3 separate regions of the Homo sapiens genome follow, and regions 2 and 3 are each linked to region 1. Evidence: promoter capture Hi-C in 16 types of primary human blood cells and fetal thymus (Javierre and others, 2016). All regions are on one chromosome and are shown on one strand. The core of a region is centred on a gene start or on the middle of the fragment in contact, and the rest is flanking DNA. Distances in the headings are between cores, read along the strand shown. Region 1 holds the start of DDX39A (DExD-box helicase 39A). Region 2 has its middle 4.4 kb from the start of MIR1199. Region 3 holds the start of DCAF15 (DDB1 and CUL4 associated factor 15).

Region 1 (2,857 bases), core at 358-2,857:
ATGGGCCTGTAGTCCCAGCTACTTGGGAGGCTGTGCCGGGAGGATCGCTTGAGCCAGGAGGTCGAGGCTGCCAGTGATGGCGCCATGGCATTCCAGCCTGGGTGACAGAGGGAGACCCTTTCTCAAGAAAAATAAATTTAAAAAAAGAAATTGGGGCCCAGCGTGGTGGCTCATGCCTGTAATCCCAGCACTTTGGGAGGCGAAGCGGGCGGATCACTTGAAGTCGGGAATTAGAGACAAGCCTGGGCAACATGGTGAAACCCCGTCTCTACTACAAATACAAAAATTAGCCGGATGTGCTTGCTTGAACCCGGAAGACGGAGGCTGCAGTGAGCCGAGATAGTGTCACTGCACTCCAGCCTGGGCGACAGAGCAAGGCTCTGTCTCAAAAAAAAAAAAAAAAAAAAAAAAAGAGAGAGAGAGATAAATAAATTGGGGTGAACCGAATCTGCTAAGATAAAATTTTCGAGAAACCGGGCTGGACAGGATCTAAAGCTCAAAACTGATTAGATCAGGAAAGGATCCGGCGGGGTTTTCCCCGCCCAAAGTGGGTGGCCATGACCGCTAAGGCGCCAGGAGCGCATGAACTTGAAAGGTGACAGCGGGGAACTCACAACCCAGACACGCCACGTGTACCCAGTTACCCTCAAGTGTCCCCAGGCAGGCTTTCCACCCCGGAGTTTATTCCCACCTGGGGACTCCTATTTCCAAAAGAAAATCTTTTTTTCATTCTGTTTTTTTTGAGGCAGAATCTCGCTCTGTCACCCAGGCTGGAGTGCAGTGTCGCGATCTCGGCTCACTGTAACCTCCACCTCCCGGGTTCAAGCGATTCTCGTGCCTCAGCCTCCCGAGTAGCTGGGACCACAGGCGCTCGCCACCACGCTCGGCTGATTTTTTTTTGTATTTTGAGTAGAGACGAGGTTTCACCATGTTGGCCAGGCTGGTCTCGAACTCCTGACCTCAAGTGATCCGCCCTCCTTGGTCTCTCCCAAAGTACTGAGATTACAAGAGCCACCGCGCCCGGCCTTCCAAAATAAAGTCTTATTTGCTCTAAATCTCAGAATCCCGAATCCCGTAAAAAGTAGACCAAGAAGAAGGTAGACTGGGAAAGGGATCAAGTCCCTCGGACCCAAAGAAACCCCTGACAACTGAAAGCTCCAACTTCTCCCACCCAGGCCCCAGACCCCGGCGTCACCCCCTCGTCCCTCTCCAAATGGCCCCAGGCCGCCGCGGGGTCTATTCGGACGAACTGACAGACTCCAAGTGGGGCTCGGAGCGCCGTAGGCCATGACAGCCCCTCCGAGAAGCGGGCCCCGAGCCCCGAGCACCGCGCGCCAACGGCTGGCCCACCCCTAGCGCATGCGCCCCGGTGCCCAACGGCCAACACACAGCGCTCTGACACACCAACCGCCCCGCCCCCACCGTCTCGCGACCCTTTCTCCCCCTCCCCTTAGATCCCAACGTCTCCCCTCGTCCTCTCGCTCTCAGTTCAGACGTCCCCACACCGCGGCCCCGCGCCCGGGATCCGCTGCTCACCTGGCTCCCCGTTCTTCTCCGCGCGCTGCTAAGAGACACTTCCAACTTCGGTTTTCCGCCGGGCGCTCAGACACGAGTTGCTGCGCTTCCTGCCTCTTGCGTCGGGCTGCTGCTCTGCTGACTGGGCCGCTGCCTTTTCATTCAAGAGAGGCCGAAGCGGTGATTGGGTCCTGTGGAAGGGACCGGGAGATTATTGGCGGAGACGGGAAGAAAGAGGGCGTGCCTTACGCCTCGCGTTTATTGGTCAATCTAAAAGTAGGCGCGCCCCAGTGAGCCGACAGACTGGCTCCGACAGCGCGCGGTCTCGTGATCTGGGTGTGGTGCTCGGTGGGAGCCGCCATGTTTAGTACTGATAACTGAAGACCGGATGATTGCGTTTTGGCGTGTGCCCCACCTTTTCGAAGAGTGGCGTCTGCGCTGGGCGCTGAAACCAGAACTGTCCCAGTTGCTATCAATCTGCGGCCTGGGGGTCCTCCACAGTGTAGGCTCTGAAAAGAATAGGGAGCTTGGAATGACTCAAATGGACAGAACATTTTGCAGTATTTGGATTTCTATCGCTCCACGATAGTTTTGTCTCCTTGATTTTCACGTTAGTAGAAGCATGCAATAGGTTGTCTTTTGTGTCTGACTTTTGCTCAACAAAGCTGTTTTTTTGAGACGGAGTCTGGCTCTGTCACCTAGGCTGGAGTGCAGTGGCGCGATCTCTGCTCACCACAACCTCCGCCTCTCGGGTTCAAGCGATTCTCCTGCCTCAGCCTCCTGAGTAGCTGGGACTGCTGGCGCCCGCCACCACACCTGGCTAATTTTCATATTTTTAGTAGAGAGGGGTTTCGCCATGTTGGCCAGGCTGGTCTCGAACTCCTGGCCTCATGTGATCTGCCCATCTCCGCCTCCCAAAGTGCTGGGATTACATGAGCCACCCTGCCTGGCCGCAGCAAAGTGTTTTTGAGAGTTGTCCATGTTGTGGGGATATCAACAGCTCGTTATTTTTTACTGCTGAGTGGTATTTCATTGTGTGGCTATACTATAATGTAGCCAATATAGTTTCACTCACCTGTTCTTGGCCAATTGATTGTTTCCGGTCTTTGGCCACTGTTAATAGAGCTTGTACTGTAAGAGTATTTTGGGGAAGATAAATTTTCATTTCTTTTAAATACTTAGGAGTGGCATGGTGGCATGGTCACTAAGCTTTATTAGATCCTGGCAGATTTATTTTCCTATCATCCTTCCTCCCTCTTTCCCTCCACTTTCTTCTTTCTTTCTTCAGGGTGTCACTCTTGTTACCTATCATGCCCAGCTAATTTTTAAAAATTTGGTAAAG
Region 2 (2,823 bases), core at 189-2,688, 340 kb before region 1:
GGTGAACACCCTAAATTGTCTCTAAAACTGTATCTGCACAGTTAACATTCTGGGACTATTTTTACAGTGTCTTAGAAGTGCACTGAGGGCCTGGCGCGGTGGCTCACGCCTGTAATCCCAGCACTTTGGGAGGCCAAAGCAGGTGGATCACGAGGTCAGGAGATCAAGACCATCCTGGCTAATATGGTGAAACCCCATCTCTACTAAAAATACAAAAAAAAAAAAAAAAATTAGCCGGGCGTGGTGGTGGGTGCCTGTAGTCCCAGCTACTCAGGAGGCTGAGGCAGGAGAATGGCGTGAACCCGGGAGGTGGAGGTTGCAATGACCCGAGATTGCACCACTGCACTCTAGCCTGGGTGACAGAACAAGACTCCATATTAAAAAAAAAAAAAAGAAGTGCACTGAGGACCAGACATGGTGACTCATGCCTGTAATTCTAGCACTTTGGGAGGCCAAGGCAGGAGGATTGCTTGATCCCAGGAGTTCAAGACCAGCTTGGGCAACATAGCGAGACACTGCCCCACCCCATCTCTACAAAAAATTAACCGGGTGTGGTGGCATGTGCCTGTGGTCCCAGCTACTCTGGAAGCTTAGCAGGAGATCGCCTGAGCCTGGGAGGTTGAGGCTACAGTGAGCTATGATTGAACCACTGCACTCCAGCCTGGGTGAGAGTGAGATCTGTAACCTAAGAAAAAAAAAAAATTCACTAAGACCAGAAAAGGGGAGACCCAGGAAGTTTAAATTTAAAAATGTTTTCAATTTTGGAGACAAGTCTTGTTCTGTCACGCAGGCTGCAGTGCAGTGGCATGATCACAGCTTACTGTAACCTTGATCTCCTGGGCTCAAGTGATCCTCCTGCCTCAGCCTCCTGAGTAGCTGGGACTACAGGTGTGAACCACCACACCCAACCCAGGAACATTTTAGAATCGCTGTTTCAACTCTTGGCTCTTGAGATCGTGTCACTGCACTCCAGCCTGGGTGACAGAGCGAAACTCTGTCTTAAACAAAAACAAATTCTTGGCTCTGTCCAACTCTGTCTCTTGTATAGGGGCATCAAATGTCTAGTGAAATCCATATGCATAAAATACAGAGAGGTCATGCTGATACAAGGCTGCACCCAAGAGCAGCTCAGCCCATGAAGGGCTCATCAGCTGACCCCATCCTCAGCCCAGTGACCCCATCCTCAGCATACTTCACTGTGACTGTGGGAGCTATGTAGAGAAAGGCGGAGAGAGCCTGGGAAGGTGGAAAATGGAAACACCTAGAGGCTGGTCTTAATTTCCAGCAGGGGAGCCAAGAACTAAGTATGTCATGAGTGGACAGGGGCCGGGCATGGTGGCTCATGCCTGTAATCCCAGCACTTTGGGAGGCCAAGGTGGGTGGATCACCTGAGGTCAGGAGTTTGAGACCAGCCTGGCCAACATGGTGAAAACCCATCTCCACTAAAAATACAAAAATTAGGCCTGGTGCAGTGGCTCATGCCTGTAATCCCAGCACTTTGGGAGGCTAAGGCGAGTGGATCACCTGAGGTCAGGAGTTCGAGATCAGCCTGGCCAACATGGAGAAACCCCATCTCTACTAAAAATCAAGAAATTAGCCAGGCATGGTGGCGCATGCCTGTAGTCCAAGCTACTCAAGAGACTGAGGCAGGAGAATCACTTGAACCCAGGAGGCAGAGGTTGCAGTGAGCCCTGAGATTGCACCACTGTACTCCAGCCTGGGTGACAGAGCGAGACTCCATCTCCAAAAAAAAAAGAGTGGACAGGACTACTTAAGTATAGATGAGGGATTCTCTAACTTTTCTGAATATTAAACTCAACTGAGGCCCCCATATGTCAAGTAAATCAGAATGGGGGAAGGGCTTGACATCAGTATTTTTTGAAGCTCCCAGGTGATTACAATATACAGCTGAGTCTGAGAACCATGAAGTAAATATAAACCAGCAGTTCTCAATGTAGTGGCACCAGGACCAGCAGTATCCGCAATGCTTGGGGAATTGCTAGACATGCGCCTTCCAGGGGCCAGGTGTGGTGGCTCATGCCTATAATCACAGCACTTTGGGAGGCTGAGGTGGGATAATTGCTTGAGTCTGGGAGTTCAAGACCAGTGTGGGCAATATAGCAAGACAAAGTCTCTACCAAAAAAAAAAAAGAGAGAGAGAAAAAAAAGCACTTTCTTGGGTCTCATCCCAGACTTAATGATCAAACTCTCCATGTGATTCTGATGCACACTAGGAAGTTTGAGAATCAAGGGTGTAGAAAGCTGCTCAGCAACAGGACCCAGGAAACAAAGCTTGTTTCCTTCCCCTTCCAGTACTGTACTGTCACCACCCACCCGAAACCCTGTCTTAAGAGACAGTGGATTTGACTTAAAGGAGACCGTCTAGAGCTGCTTGTGGCTAGTCTGAATTGAGATATGTTGTAAATGTGAAATGCTAGATTTCTTTTCCTTTTTTTTTTTTTTTTTTTTTTTGAGATGGAGTCTTGCTCTTGTTGCCCAGGCTGGAGTGCAATGGCACGATCTCGGCTCACTGCAACCTCCATCTCCTGGGCTCAAGCGGTTCTCCTGCCTCAGCCTCCAGAGTAGCTGAGATTACCAGCACCTGCCACCATGCCCGGCTAATTTTTGTAGTTTTAGTAGAGATGGGGTTTCGCCATGTTGGCCAGGCTGGTCTCAAACTCCTGACCTCATGATCTGCCTGCCTCGGCCTCCCAAAGTGCTGGGATTACAGGTGTGAGCCACTGCATCTGGCTTTTTTTTTTTTTTTTCAGATGGAGTCTCGCTCTGTTGCGCAGGCTGGAGTGTAGTGGTGCGATCTCGGCT
Region 3 (2,754 bases), core at 97-2,596, 470 kb before region 1:
CAGCTGGGCACAGTGGTTTATGCCTGTAATCCCAGCACTTTGGGAGGCCAAGACGGGATGATCCCTTGAGGTCAGGAGTTTTCGAGCAGCCTGGGCAACATAGTGAGACCCCATCTCTACAAAAAAAATTTTTTTAATGAAGACAATAAAAAAAAACTATCTTCTAGATTGTTCAGAGGATTAAATGGGCTGGCCAGGGGTGGGGGCTCACACCTGTCCTCCCAACACTTTGGGAAGCAGAGGTGGGAGGATCACTTGAGCCCAGGTGTTGGAGACCAGCCTGGACAACTTGGTGAAACTCCGTCCCTACAAAAAATACAAAAAATTAGGCCGGGCGCGGTGGCTTATGCCCGTAATTCCAGCACTTTGGGAGGCCTAGGCGGGCGGATCACCTGAGGTCAGGAGTTCGCAACCAGCCTGGCCAACATAGTGAAACCTCGTCTCTACTAAAAATACAAAAAATTAGGCAGGCGTGGTGGCGCACGCCTGTAGTCCTAGCTACATGAGAGGCTGAGGTGAGAGGATCATCTGAGCCCGGGGTCGAGGCTGCAGTGAACCGTGATCACGCCACTGCACTCCAGCCTGGGTGACAAAGTGAGACTCTGTCTAAAAAAATAAAATAAATGAGGTAATGTATACGAATATGATGCACGGAGCGGACCTTCAACAATTATTTTTATTGCTATGATCTGCATAATTGGCACAACAGGGCCCTGCCACATCGAACTGTTTAAGCTCAGAACCGTGTCTGTCACATGTGGAGCGATCCATGATTGATGCTATCATTATCACCACCATCATCCCACCAACCCGCCCATCGGAAACAAGCTTTCATCGAATCCCATCGTTTTTTCCTTTTTTGTAAATCTCTTTCCTCGGCCTGGCTCTGCCGCCCAAGTATGCTCGTCAGGCCTTTGCCCACCTGGACCGGGCGCGGGCAGCCCGGGGCTGAGGATTCTCGAGCCTTGGTGGACCACAGGCTCCCGTCGCCCCGCCCAAGGGCCTGGACCGCCTGTGGTCTCCATGGAAACCCGCCAGCCACAGGGGGCGTGACGCCGTTGAGACAGACAGAGATATTCACCTATCAGATCAAAGTTATCTGGGCAGGGCGAACAAACGGGACCTCCGAGTGGTACGTCCTTAAGGCGGGGCGGGAATACGGCAACGGGCCGCGGGGGCTGTTACTGTCGCTACCAATCAAGAGTCGAGATGGCTTTGATGGACAGGCATAGCGCGAGTGCGGGCTTTCGCCCAACCGGCGGGCCGCTGTCCCGAAAAAGGACCAATGAGGAGGCGGCAGGGGTGGGGCGAAGGGGCCGGTTGCTCCGGAAGTGGAGGGAGGGGGTGAAAATGGCGCCCAGCTCGAAATCGGAGCGGAACAGCGGGGCTGGGAGCGGCGGCGGCGGCCCCGGGGGAGCCGGAGGGAAGCGGGCAGCAGGGCGGCGGCGGGAGCACGTCCTCAAGCAGCTGGAGCGGGTCAAGGTGAGGCCTGGAGCCGGAGTGGGGAGCGCGCCGGAGGGTGGGGAGTAGGGACGAGGGAGGCGGAGGGAGGAGGGCGTTCGCGGGGTGAGGGGTTGGGGGCGGGGCCCCAGGGGAGGGGGCTCGGATGCAGGGCCTGGGCGGGGCCCGGGGGAGATGGCTTGGATGGAGGGGGCTCAGTTGGGGGCCTGGATGCAGGTGGTTGTGTCGGGTGACCGGCAAAGGGGCTGGGATGGAGGGGGTTGGGGGCGGGGCCCCAGGGAGGGGGCTCGGAGGGAGGCGACCCCAGAGGCCGCAGGGAGAATCAGGAGGAAGGGGGCGATCCAGGCTTTTCAAAGCTCTGCTCCCATGGTTGCTCCATAATGGAACCTTCCCGCCCCCTTTGCAGAGCCCCTGCCGCTGGCTTTGGGCTTCCTCCGCCTGATGTTCCTCTCCCTGCCCAAGCCCCGACCACACATGAGCTGGGAGTTCCAGTACCTGGGTGGGCCTCCCCATTGAAAGTGTGGGAGCTCCCTGGATAGGGCTGAGTCTTCCCCCGCAGAGTGAGAGTTACCGAAGCAGGCTCTGTCTCCTCCATCAGACTGGAAACTCCCAGAGCTGGGGGATGATGTCTCTCTCCCCCATCAGTTTGGGAGCTCTGGAGGGCAGAAATGTGGATCTCTTGCAGGTGGGCAGTAACTGGGGCAAGGCTGTGTCTCTGTGGACAGGGACTGCGCCTTCTCCGTGAGGCTGGTAGCTTTGTAAGGGCAGTGCTGTGTCTCCCCCTTTTGACTGGGAGCTCCCTGGGCTGGGACAGTCTCCGCCCTTAGCCTGGGAGCTCCCTGGGCTTGGCTGTGGTTCCGCCCTTAGCTTGGAAGCTCCTTGGGCAGGGACTGTGTCTCCCCTGTCGGCCTGGGCCTGGCTGGCCAGGCTGTTTCCTCCGTCAGACTGAGACCTCCATGTGGACAGGGCTGTCTCCCATCAGACAGGGAGCTTCCCAGACAGGACTCTTCCCATCAGATTGGAATGTCTTGAAGGCAGAGTTGGGTAGCAAGACTGAGGCTGTTCGGATATCCCTGTGCCTGGCTTCTGCCTGTCAGTCCCCGCAGATCCTTCCGCGGTGAAGTTTTGGGGATGAGGGATTCCCTTGGATTCCGTTGGAAGGCGGTAGTTAATTGGGAAGGGGGCGTTGGGTCATTGGTTAGGCTCACCCTTCTATCTGCCTCGACTGGCCCCCAGCAGAGGCCAGAGCTGCCCCGGGGAGGAGGAGCCCCCTTGTTTGAAGGCTGGTGGGTT

The links. Contacts are between HindIII fragments. The CHiCAGO score rates a contact against its expected background, and 5 or more counts as called.
Region 2: a contact is called between a fragment that was not itself captured here and the fragment with the promoter of DDX39A in region 1, in 12 of 17 cell types (total CD8 T cells, naive CD8 T cells, M0 macrophages and 9 more). The highest score is 10.5, in total CD8 T cells.
Region 3: a contact is called between the fragment with the promoter of DCAF15 here and the fragment with the promoter of DDX39A in region 1, in 3 of 17 cell types (naive CD4 T cells, naive CD8 T cells and non-activated CD4 T cells). The highest score is 7.6, in naive CD4 T cells.

What each region holds. Positions count from the first base shown.
Region 1 is chr19:14,417,734-14,420,590 of GRCh38, forward strand. It overlaps DDX39A (DExD-box helicase 39A), which reads right to left and starts at 1,608. Exons shown (of 11, transcript NM_005804.4): 1 at 1,537-1,608. RefSeq lists enhancers at 188-237, 608-667, 1,078-1,217 and a silencer at 1,338-1,437. The HindIII fragment of the contact is 5,494 bases long and covers 1-2,722 here.
Region 2 is chr19:14,076,346-14,079,168 of GRCh38, forward strand. No RefSeq gene overlaps it. Among named protein-coding and RNA genes, the nearest start is that of MIR1199, 4.4 kb to the left of the region's middle. The HindIII fragment of the contact is 1,703 bases long and covers 588-2,290 here.
Region 3 is chr19:13,951,163-13,953,916 of GRCh38, forward strand. DCAF15 (DDB1 and CUL4 associated factor 15) reads left to right here and starts at 1,347. Exons shown (of 13, transcript NM_138353.4): 1 at 1,347-1,482. The coding sequence starts at 1,351. It also overlaps a transcript of PODNL1 not described here. RefSeq lists an enhancer at 720-769 and a silencer at 1,430-1,569. The HindIII fragment of the contact is 10,644 bases long and covers 827-2,754 here.